Regions from separate parts of the Homo sapiens genome. Here region 1 is linked to region 2. The links are contacts of gene promoters, found by promoter capture Hi-C in blood cells and fetal thymus (Javierre and others, 2016). All regions are on one chromosome and are shown on one strand. Each heading gives the region's core, a stretch centred on a gene start or on the middle of the fragment in contact. The rest is flanking DNA. Distances are from core to core; before and after follow the strand shown. Region 1 holds the start of DND1 (DND microRNA-mediated repression inhibitor 1). Region 2 holds the start of CYSTM1 (cysteine rich transmembrane module containing 1).

Region 1 (6,431 bases), core at 3,737-6,236, 500 kb after region 2:
GAACATCCTACCGAACCGAGTGGTGGGCAGTGTGGGCCAGCACACTGGGGAGCCTGTGGAGGAGCTGGCCCTCTCCCACTGTGGCCGCTTCCTGGCCAGTAGTGGCCATGACCAGCGCCTCAAGTTTTGGGACATGGCCCAGCTGCGAGCTGTGGTGGTGGATGACTACCGTCGGCGCAAAAAAAAGGGAGGACCACTGCGGGCTCTGAGCAGCAAGACTTGGAGCACCGATGACTTCTTCGCAGGACTGAGGGAAGAGGGAGAAGACTCCATGGCTCAGGAAGAAAAGGAGGAGACTGGGGATGACAGTGACTGAAGGAATGAATTGAATCTTGAGACGGGTCCTCACCAGGCAAGAGTCTTGCTTATTGGGCTGCATCCCCAGAGAGGATATGAATTATTTTTTGAAAAGACAGGGTTTTGCCATCGTCCAGGCTGGAGTGCGCTGGCTTGATCTTGGCTCACTGCAGCCTCAATGTCCCCAGGCTCAGATTGTCCTTCCACCTTAGCCTCTGGAGCAGCTGGGACTACAGGTGTGCACTACCACACCAGGCCAATTTTTGTTTTTTTTTTTTGGTAGAAACGGGTCTGTTTTGCCCAGGCTGGTCTTCAACTCCTGGACTCAAATGATCCACCTGCCTCTGCTTCCCAAAGTGCTGGGATTACAGGCACGAGCCACCACACCTGGCCAAAAAAATTTATATTTTTTGAGACAAGGTCTCACTCTGTCACCCAGGCTGGAGTACAGTGGGTTGATCATGGCTCACTGCATCCTTGACTTCCTGGGCTCAAGTGATCCACCTCAGCCTGCCTGGTAGCTGAGACTTAACAGGCATCTGCCACCATGCTTGACTAATTTTTGTGATTTTTTTTTGGTAGAGACCAGGGGTTTCACTATGTTGACCAAGCTGGTCTTGGAACTCCTGGGCTCAAGTGATCCTCCTGCCTTGGCCTCCCAAAATGCTGGGATTACAGGCATGAGCCACTGTGCCTGGCTGGATATGAAATTTTTTTTTTTTTTTTTTTTGAGACAGGGTTTCGCTCTTGTTGCCAGGGCTGGAGTGCAATGGCGTGATCTTGGCTCACTGCAACCTCCGCCTCCCGGGTTCAAGCAATTCTCCTGCCTCAGCCTCCCAAGTAGCTGGGATTACAGGTGTCTGCCACCATGCCAGGCTAATTTTTGTATTTTCAGTAGAGACGGGGTTTCTCCATGCTGGCCAGGCTGGTCTCGAACTCCTGACCTCAGGTGATCCACCCGCCTCAGCCTCCCAAAGTGCTGGGATTACAGGCAAAAGCCAACACACCCGGCCTGGATATGAATTTATAATACCCTACAGTGCAACACAAGAAGATGCACTCAAAGCACTGATGTGAGGAAGTACTTGCCCCGTAGCAGCTATTCACTCTACCAGTGTAAACAAACTCTAAGCTAGGGCAAGACAGCACAGACACAAGTATATACTAACCAGGGGTTTAATATAAATACAACCAGCATAGAAAGACCCAAAACTATACAGAAACCAAAACCAGAATGCCATGTGGTGGAGGCAAAGGGCAGAATTTCTGACCCCTTTGGCTCAGCTGCCCTTCCCCACAAATAAAAACCAACAAAGAGGACAAATCAGGACAATAAAGAAGATTCATGCTAAGCTGTGGCAGAGGGGGGAAGGTATGATCGGGTGGGGGTGGGACAAGGAACGGCCATGGAAGATCACTGGGTCAGGTTGGACCCTGGGCTGGGAGCGGGAGGGCAAGGCCCCTCACCACAACTTAACCCAAACCTAAGCTGCCCCCAGGTGCCATAGGTCCCTGTCCCAGCAGGGAGGCTGATGGGCCTGGGCCCATGCCCCTCCCCACCTTTGGGGGTCAGAAAGTGGCCACCCAGGCCTGCTGGGATGGGGCCTGACACAGGCTCTGCATGCCCATTCAGGGTGCCTGTGGAGAAAGAATGGAGTCACTGTTTAACCATGGTACCTGCCTCAGCCCCAGCAGACCACAGGAGGTTGGCCCCAGACTCACTGAGTGCCTGCAGCAGCCGTACAGACACAGCATCCTTGGCCACCTCATGCCCATCCCGGCCATCTAGGGTCAGCACAACCCAGATGAGGCCGCTGAAGGGCACCGGATGCCCAGGAATCACCACCTGGTACCAGAAGCGGTGCCAGCCAGCAGGTCCTATGCCCAAACACTTGGTGAGGAACACAGGGCTGCCCAGCTTCATTCGTTGGCACAGCAACTGCAGGGTAGCCCGAGCCCCTTGGAACCCTAACTTGTCCCTTGCCAAAGCCAACTGGCTGCCCTCTGGCTGTGGGGACCGCAAGAAGGGACCCACAAGCTGCTGGCGAAGTCGCTGCTTCAGGTCTGGCTTGAGCCACTCCACAGCCACCTGCTCTCCACAGAGGTGTGACTGCCCTGTAGGAAAAATGCAAAGACAAGGGCAGGTCTAAACCCTGGGCCCAAGCCTCCAGGTGGTGAGCCCTTTGGAGCTACACAGTCCTGTTATTTGTAGCCTTCCCATTTCCTGGTAGTGTGACCATGGGTAAGAAAAGACAATGAAGCCTTCAGCCTCCATTATTTGCAAAGGGAGTATAACACACTGCTACCTTACAAGTTTCCTTGGAGAAGTACTGGTTAATTGCAGGCTTTGTCTGCCTCATAACCATCATAATGGCTAATCTTTACTGGGAAAACTTGCTGTAAGTCAGTCAGTGTGCTAAGTACCGTACACCCATTATGTTACTTAATTCTCATAACAGTCTGAGGAAACAGATTCTATAGTAGTAAAAAGCTCAGTTGGATTCCCTTGAGCAAATCAATTTCTCTAACAGTTTCCTCATAGCTTGAGGGTCCTGTGCCTATTTTGCGGTGTGGGGGTGGGGGAAGGTTGAGAATTAAGTCAGGAGGTAATGCTCGGGAAGTGTCACAAATTTAGGTAAGCGGTGGTGGTAGCACCATTGGAAGTTTTAAAAATCTGAGATCAAATAGTAAAAGGTTGCAAATTCTGGCATGTTTGACTCTAAGATCTTGTAACTTTAACAGCTATGCTCAGTATAAAGTGCCGGGCAGAACGCGTTTGGCCCCAACCAGCACCCCCGCCCCAGCCTACCTTCCACCAGGGCCTTTTTGGCCATGGCAGCGGCCCGGTGCGAGCTGAATTTGAGCAGAGCGATCTGCCCGGGCGCCGGTCCGGGGCTGGGCAGCAGCCGCGCCTCCTGCAAGCCGGGACCCAGCGGCTGCAGCGCGAGCAGCAGCGCGCTGCGGGTCAGATTCGGCGGCAGGCCGTCAACGCTCAGCTCACACTTCTCGGTGCTGCGGCACACGAGCAGCGGGCAGGACGGCCGCAGCGGATGGTTGTGCAGCGTGGCGATGGCGGCCTGCGCGCCGCGCCTCGAGCTGTAGCGGGCATAGGCGAAGCCGCGGTTCAGGCCGCTGAAGGTCATCATCAGGCGGAACTCGTAGAGGCGGCCCACGCGCTGGAACAGCGGGATAAGCTGGTGCTCGTACACGTCCTGAGGCAGCCGCCCGATGAACACCTCTGACCCAGCTGGCGGCGGGCTGCCCACCCAGCCTGTGGGAAGAGGGTATGCAAGGCCACCGTCAGGCGACGCTTTCGAATTCTGAGCCCACGGACCCAGCGCGCGGGGGTGGGAGGCGATGTGAACAAAGGTCTGTGAAATGGGTTTACACCCGTACCCTGGGTGGTTGGCATAATTAGGTGACTGCGCTAACAAGGGGGCTGGCACAGAGTAGGTACACCTTGAGATTGGCCCCCTCCCTCGACGGGGCGGGTGGACGTGGAGCCACAGTTCCTCCTTTGCTGGGGGGTATAAATCCGGGTAGTTCGCAGTTTCTGACAGTGAAGGCTCGGAGCAGCCCCTCCCCCAAAGGGGGCTGGTGTAGCCGGACAGGCGGAGGGGCTGGGACTACCGTACCTGGGGGTGGCCCGCCATACTTCCTCTGCCCGTTCACCTGCACCAGGCGGATGCCTGTCTCCCTGACCCACGCCTCCAGCGCCGCCTTGTTCTCTGGATTCACCCTCTCACACCACAGCTGAGAGGGAAAGGAAGGTTGGAATGGCGGATCGCCAAGCGCGCCCCCACCTCTCCTGTGGTACTGGGGTCCCTAAAGCCGACCCCCGCTCCGGCGGGGCTCGCCGGCCCCCAAGTCGCCAGCCGCTTACCTCACAATCCCGCTTGGACTGCATGGCTCTCCAGCTGGCCCCCTCGTACCCTCTTTATAACTTCCTCCCCACCGGCCTCTGGAAGCTTCCCTACCCCTCCACCCCGCAAGCTCTCATTGGCTCTGAGCGCGACCCCGCCTCCCAGGGGGGTGGAGGTATCCACTGCACGTGCGCCGCCCGGGCTTCGCTCAGACCTTCAGGTGAAAGCTGCAAAGTCGCGGGTGCGTATGTACGGGGGCTGCCTCCCGAGGAGGAGCTCCCAAGCCGCAGGGTGGACGCTGGAGACAAGAACCTCAGGGTCACAAGTTTACTGTTTTTCTCCCTTTTCCATCCCTACATTGGTCTGCTGGGGAAGGCGGGGCTAGGCATCACTGACACACGCAGACTCCGTGGTTGAGGCATTTTATTGGACCTTTGGCAATTGGTGGTGGGGAGGCATCTGCTCCAACTGGTGCGGGGCCCTGCAGATGGGACCATCTCAGGCTGGGTCCTTGTAGCCCAGGAGCACAGACTGGACTAAGCCTCCTGGGCCTTGTATGAAAAAGGTGTTGTACCTGGCCGTTTTTGCCAGTAATAATCAATAAAATAACCATAATAAAAATCAAAGGCTCTGTTCTGACCACTCTTCAGGTCTTCCGCTGAAACGGAAAAGTGCAAAGCAATTGAAGTACATATGCAGTTTGTCTTAACCTCAAATAGTGCCAGTCCCACTTCCTTTCCTCTGATAGTTTGTTCAGTTCAGCAGATGCAGAGGGGCTGGCCTGTTCTCCTTTTGATTTCCTCCACAAGGTCTTCTCTTCGGACATCCACCTGGCCAGGATGGGAGAAGAAGGTGGTATAAGCATCTTCCATTCCACTGCTCCCCGAGTGCCTAGTTTCCTCTAGCCCTCTAGGCATCAGGCTTGTCTCAGCTGGGAGCAGGAACCTAATTAAACACCTCAGGCTAGAGTGTGCCTCTTGGGGGAGCCAACAAACCATAAGGTATATGCAGGGATGGAGATCTCACCCTACTAAGACCACAGTAACAGGTTAAGCCCTCAAGGCTTTTATGAGTTGTACTAATATCAATGCCAGGCTTTTTCTCAGGTCTTGAATGGGCATGGGCCTGCCAAAATGGCATACATTCTCTGTCCCTTAGCCTTCCTGCCCACCTCCCTCACCTCTTCCCTGCTCGTCACTGAACGGAGCTTGATGACCCCATCCTTGAGTTCCTGCTCGCCGATGATAGCCACCAGTGGGATGCCTGCCTCCTCACAGTACTGTAACTGGTTCAGTAGCTTTGGGTTCTTCTTGTACAGCAGCTCAGCCTGCAGGGGACAAGAGCAGAAGATGAAGGCTGGCTTCTGCTGTCCTCAGGGACAGAGGGTGTCCAAGCTGGCACCCTGTTCTTAGCTCTACTTTTGAGAAGTAATGGCAGGATCCATTATGGGTGAGCTTTTATTCAGTTTGTGTCCAGCACACCTAAGTTTGCTGCCACCCTGGGGCTTGCCTCCCATACCTTGATCCCAGCATCCCACAGTTCTGAGACAAGCTTTAGTCTTTCCTCTAGCAGCTTCTTCTGTGCAGATGCCACAAGCACCTGTGTCTCCGTGGTCCGTATCTTCTCCTCCAAAGCCTGGGGAAGGGGCAGATAAAAGAGAGCTGGGCTAACACCTTCAAGGAGCAAACAAAGCAGGCTCTAGTCGGGATTTTGAGACCAGGCCCAACTCAGCTCTACCAGGGCAGGGGCCCTGTCTTCTCATCTAGCACCTTGGGCATAAAGGTAGCTTTTAGTAGATATGAGGACTGAACTGACTGACTTGTACATAGGACGTATCAGAATAAATAACTTAGGGCAAGAGTAAAGGTAGCTTTTTTACAGTAACTTCAAGCTTATCTCCATGTAGTACCTTTTTTTTTTTTTTGAGACAGGGTCTCTGTCATCCAGGCTGAAGTGCCGTGGTGTGATCACTGCAGCTTCGACCTCCCAAGCTCAAGTGATCCTCCCACCTCAGCCTCCTGACTACAGGCACACACCACCATACTCAGCTAATTTAAAAAAAAAAAAAAATTTTTTTTTTTAATCTGTAGAGACAGGGTCTCATCATGTTGCCCAGGCTGGTCCATGTAGTACCTTAAGGGTCCACCAAAGCATTCACACAGAAGTACTACTATGAGCCCACCCCAATTAGATCACCCTTGACAGTTTTAGTCCCCACTTACTATCTACCCATTTATGACACTGTGCCTCTCACACTTCAGTTACAGGGCA
Region 2 (6,965 bases), core at 1,779-4,278:
GGCCCCTCTTTCCATGAACGCTGCGGGCATGGAAGGACATGACATAGTTTAGCATTCAATTTCACAGCAGCCTGGCAAGGTCTCACACTGTCTTATCTTCCCATCAGAAATTGGATGCCTGACCAAGCCAGGGCACATGCTCCTTCTGTATCCATCAGTCTTGAGTGTACATTAGGCATCCAAGAAACATTCTTTCATCCAGTTGTTCAGAGAACAAATGTGGTCCAATAAAAATACAATGGTTTAAAAAATGGCCCTTTAAAAAATATTACGAATCTGGGTTCTCTTTCTTTGCCCTGGAATTCACCTAAAGTTTATGATAGTCTTGTGAGGTAGGTATTATTATCTCTATTTTACAGATAAGGCAGAGACTCAAAGAAGGTGAGTAACTTGGCCAAGTTCACAAAATGGATAAATCTCAGAACACAGGCTCCCAACGACTGCACCATGTTGCCTCCACAGTCCTTGGACAGTTCTCCCGAATGAACAAATATTGAAAATTCATTGTTACTTCTGTGACTAATGGACTTTCACAGCAAATATGCTTGGCCAGGACCTTGTACCCTGACATTTTTCTTTTATTTCCAGGAATGGAAACCCACACTGCTGTTGTGAAGACACCTGATGAAACTCCAGCAACTTCTACATCTGGCCTGCTGCTTAGTCCTGGGACCTGAGGTCAAAATCTTAGAAAAGAGCCATGTGAGATGCATTCCCTGGCCTCATCTCTGTTCTTGGATGCTGTCAGCAACACTCCTTGAGTTTTTACCCACATAATAACACTTTCCTCAGCATGGATGTGGAGGTGGGGGTGAGGAATGTTCTATTTTTCCTTCGATGGTTACGCCCTCACCCTACCAACTCAGTAAAAGGGGAGTGGTCAGGGAGCGTACTGAGAATGTGTCCTAGCATCTTTTCTTCCCTAGCACAGCCTTCATATGACCCAGCTGCCATGAGAAGCTTGCCTCCCTTCTAAGGGAATTACCCCTGCCTTCCACTCCATCCTCACCTTGCCCTGCCCAGATTAGAGGCACGGAGGCATGTACCACAGGCCTGAAAAACTGTCCAGCCAAAAAGCCTGACTGCCTTGAGTACTATCAGGGTGTAGTTATGGACGTGCCTGTTTCTGCTCTTCCCTCTGCATTAGTGCTCTGCAAAGGGTGGCTCTTACCCTCAGATGGTCCAGAGGTAGTTTGGGGTGTGCATGGATCACCTTCACTCTTCAGAGGCAAACAGACAATGCTGCTCTTCTCCAACAGCCTCTGAAGGACACCACCTACTGACTGGTTCTGAGATGTTTGCTGCCCCAGAGTCTCCCACCTGCTTCTTCCTCCCCCTCAGTCCTTTTTTGTAGCCTCTCAGCCTCCCTTCTCTTAATGCTCTTAGCACCCTTTCCTGGGTCTCTATTTACCCTGCCCTCCCTTTCAGCAACTCCTTCCCAAACCACTGCATACTTCTCCTTTCTTTCCAATCCCTCCTCCCTTCCCAGCACTTTCGCCCTCCATTGAATCCCTCAAGCCTCATTCTGGCCCCACTCCTCCCCTCACCCTCTATCCCTGCCCTCCTCAGATCTGCCAAACACCTCAGGCCTGGCTGCCTCTGTCCTGTTCCTACCAACCTTCTGACCATGCCTCTGTGCTCCTTGGGACCTGGGCTCACATTTTCAATCTCTTCTCTCCTATTAGTACAGCTCTGTCTAGAGCCATGGTTCTTCTCTACCTTTCACAGCTGTCTTCTTTCCCACTTATATGAGTTTCTTTAAGTGTGAAAATTAAAAAGTGCCACTTAAATACAATGATTAAGTCATAATAAACAGTACAAGTTGTACTTATGTGAGACATACCACCCATACACGTTTGATCTTCGAGAACCACATCTCAATCTGCCCATGGCCCATTGCCTGACACTAAAAGATGCTCACAAGAAGTTGACTATAAACTAACTTCTTGGTCTAAGATCCTAAACTCTTGAGAGGGAAGGTTTCAATACATATGAAACCTTCTTGGCAGTGCAGGGATGAGGAGAGTAAAACTGAAATGAAAGTCAGCAAATAGTGAAGGTGTGAAATAGGCAGTGACTCTCACACTGAGACCTCCAGGGGATGTTAAATTTTCATTTCGAAGCTGATAGTCTTATCTGGGAAGCCTAGAGAGTAACAAAAGTTGTAGGCATATACTTATATTAGAGTGGTGCAAAAGTAATTGCTGTTTTTGCCATTTAAAAAAAAAATGCAAAAACCACAATTACTTTTGCACCAACCTAATAGCAAGCAAGGGGAGGAATATGGAGAGAAAATCAATTTCTAAAATGAAAAATAAAAAATTTTTTGCAAGTAGGACTTGCAAGCTCATTCTAGGCCTTGCTCTGGGAGCTTTTCGGTAACTTCTCTTCCTGTTGGAACAGAAGAAGGAAACCTTCAGGACAGAAGATTCTGTCCCCCTTCCCCCTCCTGATGTGAATGAAGTCTCATTACACTCTAAAGTACTGGCGGGACTACTTGTTGCAAGGTTTATGGGGAAAAGTAGCCAGAGAGCAATCCAGTTATCAGCCTCAGCCCCATTCCGCTCAGGTACAGCTCGGGAAGTAAGCCCCCAACCCTAGTTGGGTCTGGACCAACAAGACACGAGGAGGCAGCAGCCCACAGCCGACCCCTCATGCCACGCACTGAGCAGGGTTCCGCATGGACGCTGGTCTTGCCTCCCAGGCGCCTGAACTAGCGGAGTTGGGGTATCGGGTGGAGTCTCGGAGAACCAATCCAATCTGAGGGGGACGCCTGTGGGAGTCCTAAGTATCCAGCGCAGCTGGGAGGCCCACGTTGGGAAGTCGGAGACCGACCCCGCCTCCCGACTGCGCCGACTGCAAGAGAGCGCTTCCGGCGGCGCTTGGAGGCCGAGCAGTTGGGGGCGGGGCTCGTGCTGTGACGCAAGCCTCGCCTCGCCCCGCGCCGCGCGCGTTGCCAGGGTGATCAGGTGACTCCCGGTTCGCGGCGCTGGGAGCGGCCGTGACGTCAGGCGCCCGGCTGCTCCTCACTTGCTCTGAGACAGGTGCGGCAAGTCTACTGCGGGCTGGTCCGGGCTCCTCAGGTTCAGACCCGACCGTTATCCAGTCGGTTCGTGGAGAGGAGAGGTGAGGTGCAGCGGACCTGGCCCGACCCAGCTGGGACCAGGGCGGGGATCAGGCACGGACAGGGCGCGTCCCCGGGCTCCCTGGGGAGCGCCCTGAGAACTGGGGGGCACCCGGGCTGGCCTGGCTCAGGCAGGGGTTCGCGCAGCCCCTGGGGAGGGGCAGGGAGGCAGGGAAGCTGCTGCCGCCAGCTGGATCCCTCCCGGCGCCCCGCGGCTACTCTGGGGCTCCTGGTCGCCGCGCCGCGCGTCTCGGCGGTGGACTCACAGGGTCTCCGCGTCGCTGCGGTTCTCGTCTCACGAGGAGTCGGCGGGCTCGGAGCGGGGCTCGCCACACCCCGTCCCGGGGGACGTCCGCGGGAGGCTTCTGGATTTCTTCGCCTTGGGCTGCGATTTCTGAGGCGCTGCTCTGCCTATTCCGAGCTGGGCCAGCCGGGGGCAGGGGGCAGGTCGCGAGTCCCGCGGGTGGGAGCGGAGCGGAAGTAACTAGTGACTGGAAGTAACTAGGGAACGCAAAGCCGGCGCTCGGAGGCCGGGGTGTTCAGAGAAGGCGTTGCGGGGGAAAGGAATCCCGGCTGCTGTTGAGAGCCGTGGATTGGGATCTGAGCGGACCTGTTGGAGGAAGTGAAATCTGAGCGGGGTCCTGACGGGTGGGAACTAATCTCCCGGTAGCAGTGGAGGTTGCAGGGGGGAGAGAAGGAGGGGAGGACCCCTGGGGAAGGAGACCATGAGGAAAAACGATTTGGGGACTGACTGGACCGTCTGCTGGGCTGTTTTGGGGGAAAAAAAGTTTGGAGAATTAGGTTAGGGAGGATTAGGAAAGGACCCTTGAGTGCCCACCTGAGAGGCACTGTGTGCTGTGGGGAGCCATTGAAACGTTGGCTAGATTGGGGTAGGGGGAACACTGAGGAAGTTGGTGTGAGGGGAACACTGAGGAAGTTGGTGTGACATTCCGGCAAAAAGGTGACAACACTCTTCTCTGATGGGATTCCTCAAACCCTGCTTATGAAATACTTGTAACCGACAAGGGTAGGGGCTCAGGCAGCCAGGTGCCTTTTTCAGCCATTGTTGGCAAATTTTTAGAAATTAAACAAAAAATAATTGTACATATTTATAGATTTATACAATATGATACATGTAAACTTTGTGGAGTAACCATGTTAGCAGATTTTTAAAAATTCCTTTTTATGAAAGGACCCACCCAAGGGCAGCTCATTTTCGAGTATCTCATTTGACGGGATTTAATGACTGGTTGGGAGCTATGCCCCCCTCAGTATGCAGGGAGATTATAGCGTCCACAACACTTTGCCCTTCAGAGGTTTCAGAGTGACTTACAAACACCTTGTATCCCTAGGGTGAAACCCAAACCCCAAATGACTGGTAAGAGATTTAATAGGGGGAAGTTATTAAAGGAGAACCAGCATCCAAACATTCATGTGGGGCATTGGATTCGCTGAAAGGAGTCCCATACTATTTGTTGATTGTAGATCAAAGATCTCTAGACCTGGCCTGGTGCGGTGGCTCACACCTGTAATCCCAGCACTTTGGGAGGCCGAGGCGGACGGATCACGAGGTCAGGAGATCGAGACCATCCTGACTAACACGGTGAAACCCCGTCTCTACTAAAAATATAAAAAATAAGCCGGGCGTGGTGGCGGGCGCCTGTAATCCCAGCTACACGGGAGGCTGAGGCAGGAGAATGGCGTGAACCCGGGAGGTGGAGCTTGCAGTGAGCCGAGGCTGCGCCACTGCACTCCAGCCTGGGCGACAGAGCGAGACTCTGTCTCAAAAAAAAAAAAAAAAAAATCTCTAGTCCTTTCCTGCCAGCTTTGAGTTTCTCCGTGTAAGGCTGCGTAAGTGTTAGTTGGCTATTTTGTCTTAATTTCCTGAGCAACAGGAAAAATATATTTTGGTTATATGAAGAGGAATGCTTTGGTAATTTATGATTTTTCCCAGCCCTGAAATTTATTGGTGCTAGGACCAAAAATACACAGCTGTCTATTTTATTTTATTTATTTGTTTATTTTTGAGGCGGAGTCTTGCTCTGTCGCCCAGGCTGGAGTGCAGTGTCGAGATCTTGGCTCATTGCAACCTTTGCCTCCTGGGTTCAAGAGCTGTCTATTTTATATTGAAACTTACCAAAGTCTGTTTTCTGGGAGGTAGTGAAATTATTTTGTATTTCTTTGACTCCAGAAAACAGAATTGGACCTCCAGGGATCCTGTACAGTGAAAGGCAGGTTTGGGAATTGCGAAGGAAGGTGGCCGCAGCTGGTTTGTGCGTAAATATAGAAACCGGTGCAGCACTCAAAGGAGTGCAAATCCAGGGTGAGACCTGGGGAAACGGGACTTCCAGTCAGATCAGTGAAGTCATTCTCTGTAAAAGAAGCCCCGAAGTGTGTAAAAGGCCAGAGTAGTTTTTTCCCCGTGTGTTCCTGTTGAGTGGTAGAGATTATGATAGTGATTTTTAAGGGGCTTTGCAGGAGCTTGTTAATATTAAGAATCGCTGGAAATCAGATGTCTTGGCCTCATTAAAAAATTTAGAAAAGTAACTGTTTTCCAAATCTCTTTGATACTATTTGAAGTGGCCAACTAATTATGGTTCCTTTGGAAAGAAACAGTCCACCCCCTCCTTTCCCAAACAAAATAACTATGTGCTGTCAGGGCAGTTAAGTAGGCCAAAAGTTTTTGGAAATTTTCTGCTTTCATTCACCCAAGCCACCCCCACAAGTTTTCTCATTGGTAGAGAACTTAAGACTTTACTGTCAGGAAAAAAATGTTAGTGTGTTTCCCTAAATACAAACTATAATAAACAACAGGGCTGGCCTTTAATAGAAATGCTCTTTCTTAAGGGGGACTGGGCTGAGGTGAAAGGCAGGGCTGGGGTATGGGCTGGAGCATTTTGAGCTCACATTTGTCAACTAAGGCCTTGAGCAGGGCACTCCTTTCTTGGCATGGAAACTTTCTTTGACCTTGAATGCGGGTCAGTACCTCCTCACAGAGGTACCAAGGAGAATTAATGAGAGGCTTATATGAAATTTGAGCTCCTCCAAAGCAGAATATTTTAATTCTTGGATGAATGGTATATTTTGAGATGTGATAAAAGTTTTTTAAAAGAGTTTGAAGTTCTAAGTTTTTGGAAAAGCCCTATTCAAGTCCTTCCTTTTTTTTTTTTTTTTTTTTTTTTTCAGAAACAGGGCTTGCTATGTTGCCCAGGTTGGTCTCTAACTCCTGGGTTCAAGTGATCCTCCCACCTCAACCCTGTGAGTAGCTGGGACTACAGGCGACCATGCCTGGCTATCTAAGACCTTTTTGCTGATTTGGTTTTTTTAATTTTTTTGAGACAGGTTCTGGCTCTGTTGCCTGGGCTGGAGTGCAGTGGTGTAATCGCAGCTCACTGCAACCTCCACCTCCTGGGCTCAAGCCATCCTCCCGACTCAGTCTCCTGAGTAGCTGGGACTACAGGCCTGCACCACCACACCTAGCTAATTTTTTGTGTTTTTTGTGGAGATGGAGTTTTGACATGTTGCCCAGGCTCCCCTCAAACTCCTAGGCTCAAGCAATCTGCCTGCCTCAGCCTCCCAAAGTGCTGGGATTACAGGCATGAGCTACCATGCCTGGACTTTTTGCTGGTTTTTTGTTTTGTTTGGCTTTGTTTTTTCCTGGGGTTTTATGGGCTTGGTTACTAATCAGCCTGTAATCAAGATCTGAGGCCCGGTGCGGTAATCCTAGCACTTTGGGAGGCTGAGGCAAGAGGATCGCTTGAGCCCAGGAGTTCAAGACCAGCCTGAGCAACACAGGGAGACCCCATAGCTACAAAAAATTTTTAAAAATTAGCTGGGCATG

What was found. The method cuts DNA at HindIII sites, captures the fragments that hold promoters and counts their contacts. A CHiCAGO score of 5 or more calls a contact.
Region 1: a fragment that was not itself captured here is called in contact with the fragment with the promoter of CYSTM1 in region 2 in 1 of 17 cell types (neutrophils); the score reaches 5.6 in neutrophils.

What each region holds. Positions count from the first base shown.
Region 1 is chr5:140,669,339-140,675,769 of GRCh38, forward strand. DND1 (DND microRNA-mediated repression inhibitor 1) reads right to left here and starts at 4,238. Exons shown (of 4, transcript NM_194249.3): 1 at 4,181-4,238; 2 at 3,933-4,050; 3 at 3,107-3,568; 4 at 1,456-2,412. The coding sequence starts at 4,204. The coding sequence ends at 1,955. It overlaps HARS1 (histidyl-tRNA synthetase 1), which reads right to left. Exons shown (of 13, transcript NM_002109.6): 11 at 5,679-5,795; 12 at 5,341-5,487; 13 at 4,567-4,990. The coding sequence ends at 4,919. WDR55 (WD repeat domain 55) reads left to right here. Exons shown (of 7, transcript NM_017706.5): 7 at 1-3,007. The coding sequence ends at 316. RefSeq lists enhancers at 3,112-3,907, 3,908-4,703. The HindIII fragment of the contact is 1,446 bases long and covers 4,264-5,709 here.
Region 2 is chr5:140,172,160-140,179,124 of GRCh38, forward strand. CYSTM1 (cysteine rich transmembrane module containing 1) reads left to right here and starts at 3,029. Exons shown (of 3, transcript NM_032412.4): 1 at 3,029-3,126. RefSeq lists an enhancer at 2,607-2,836 and a silencer at 3,127-3,416. The HindIII fragment of the contact is 7,638 bases long and covers 959-6,965 here.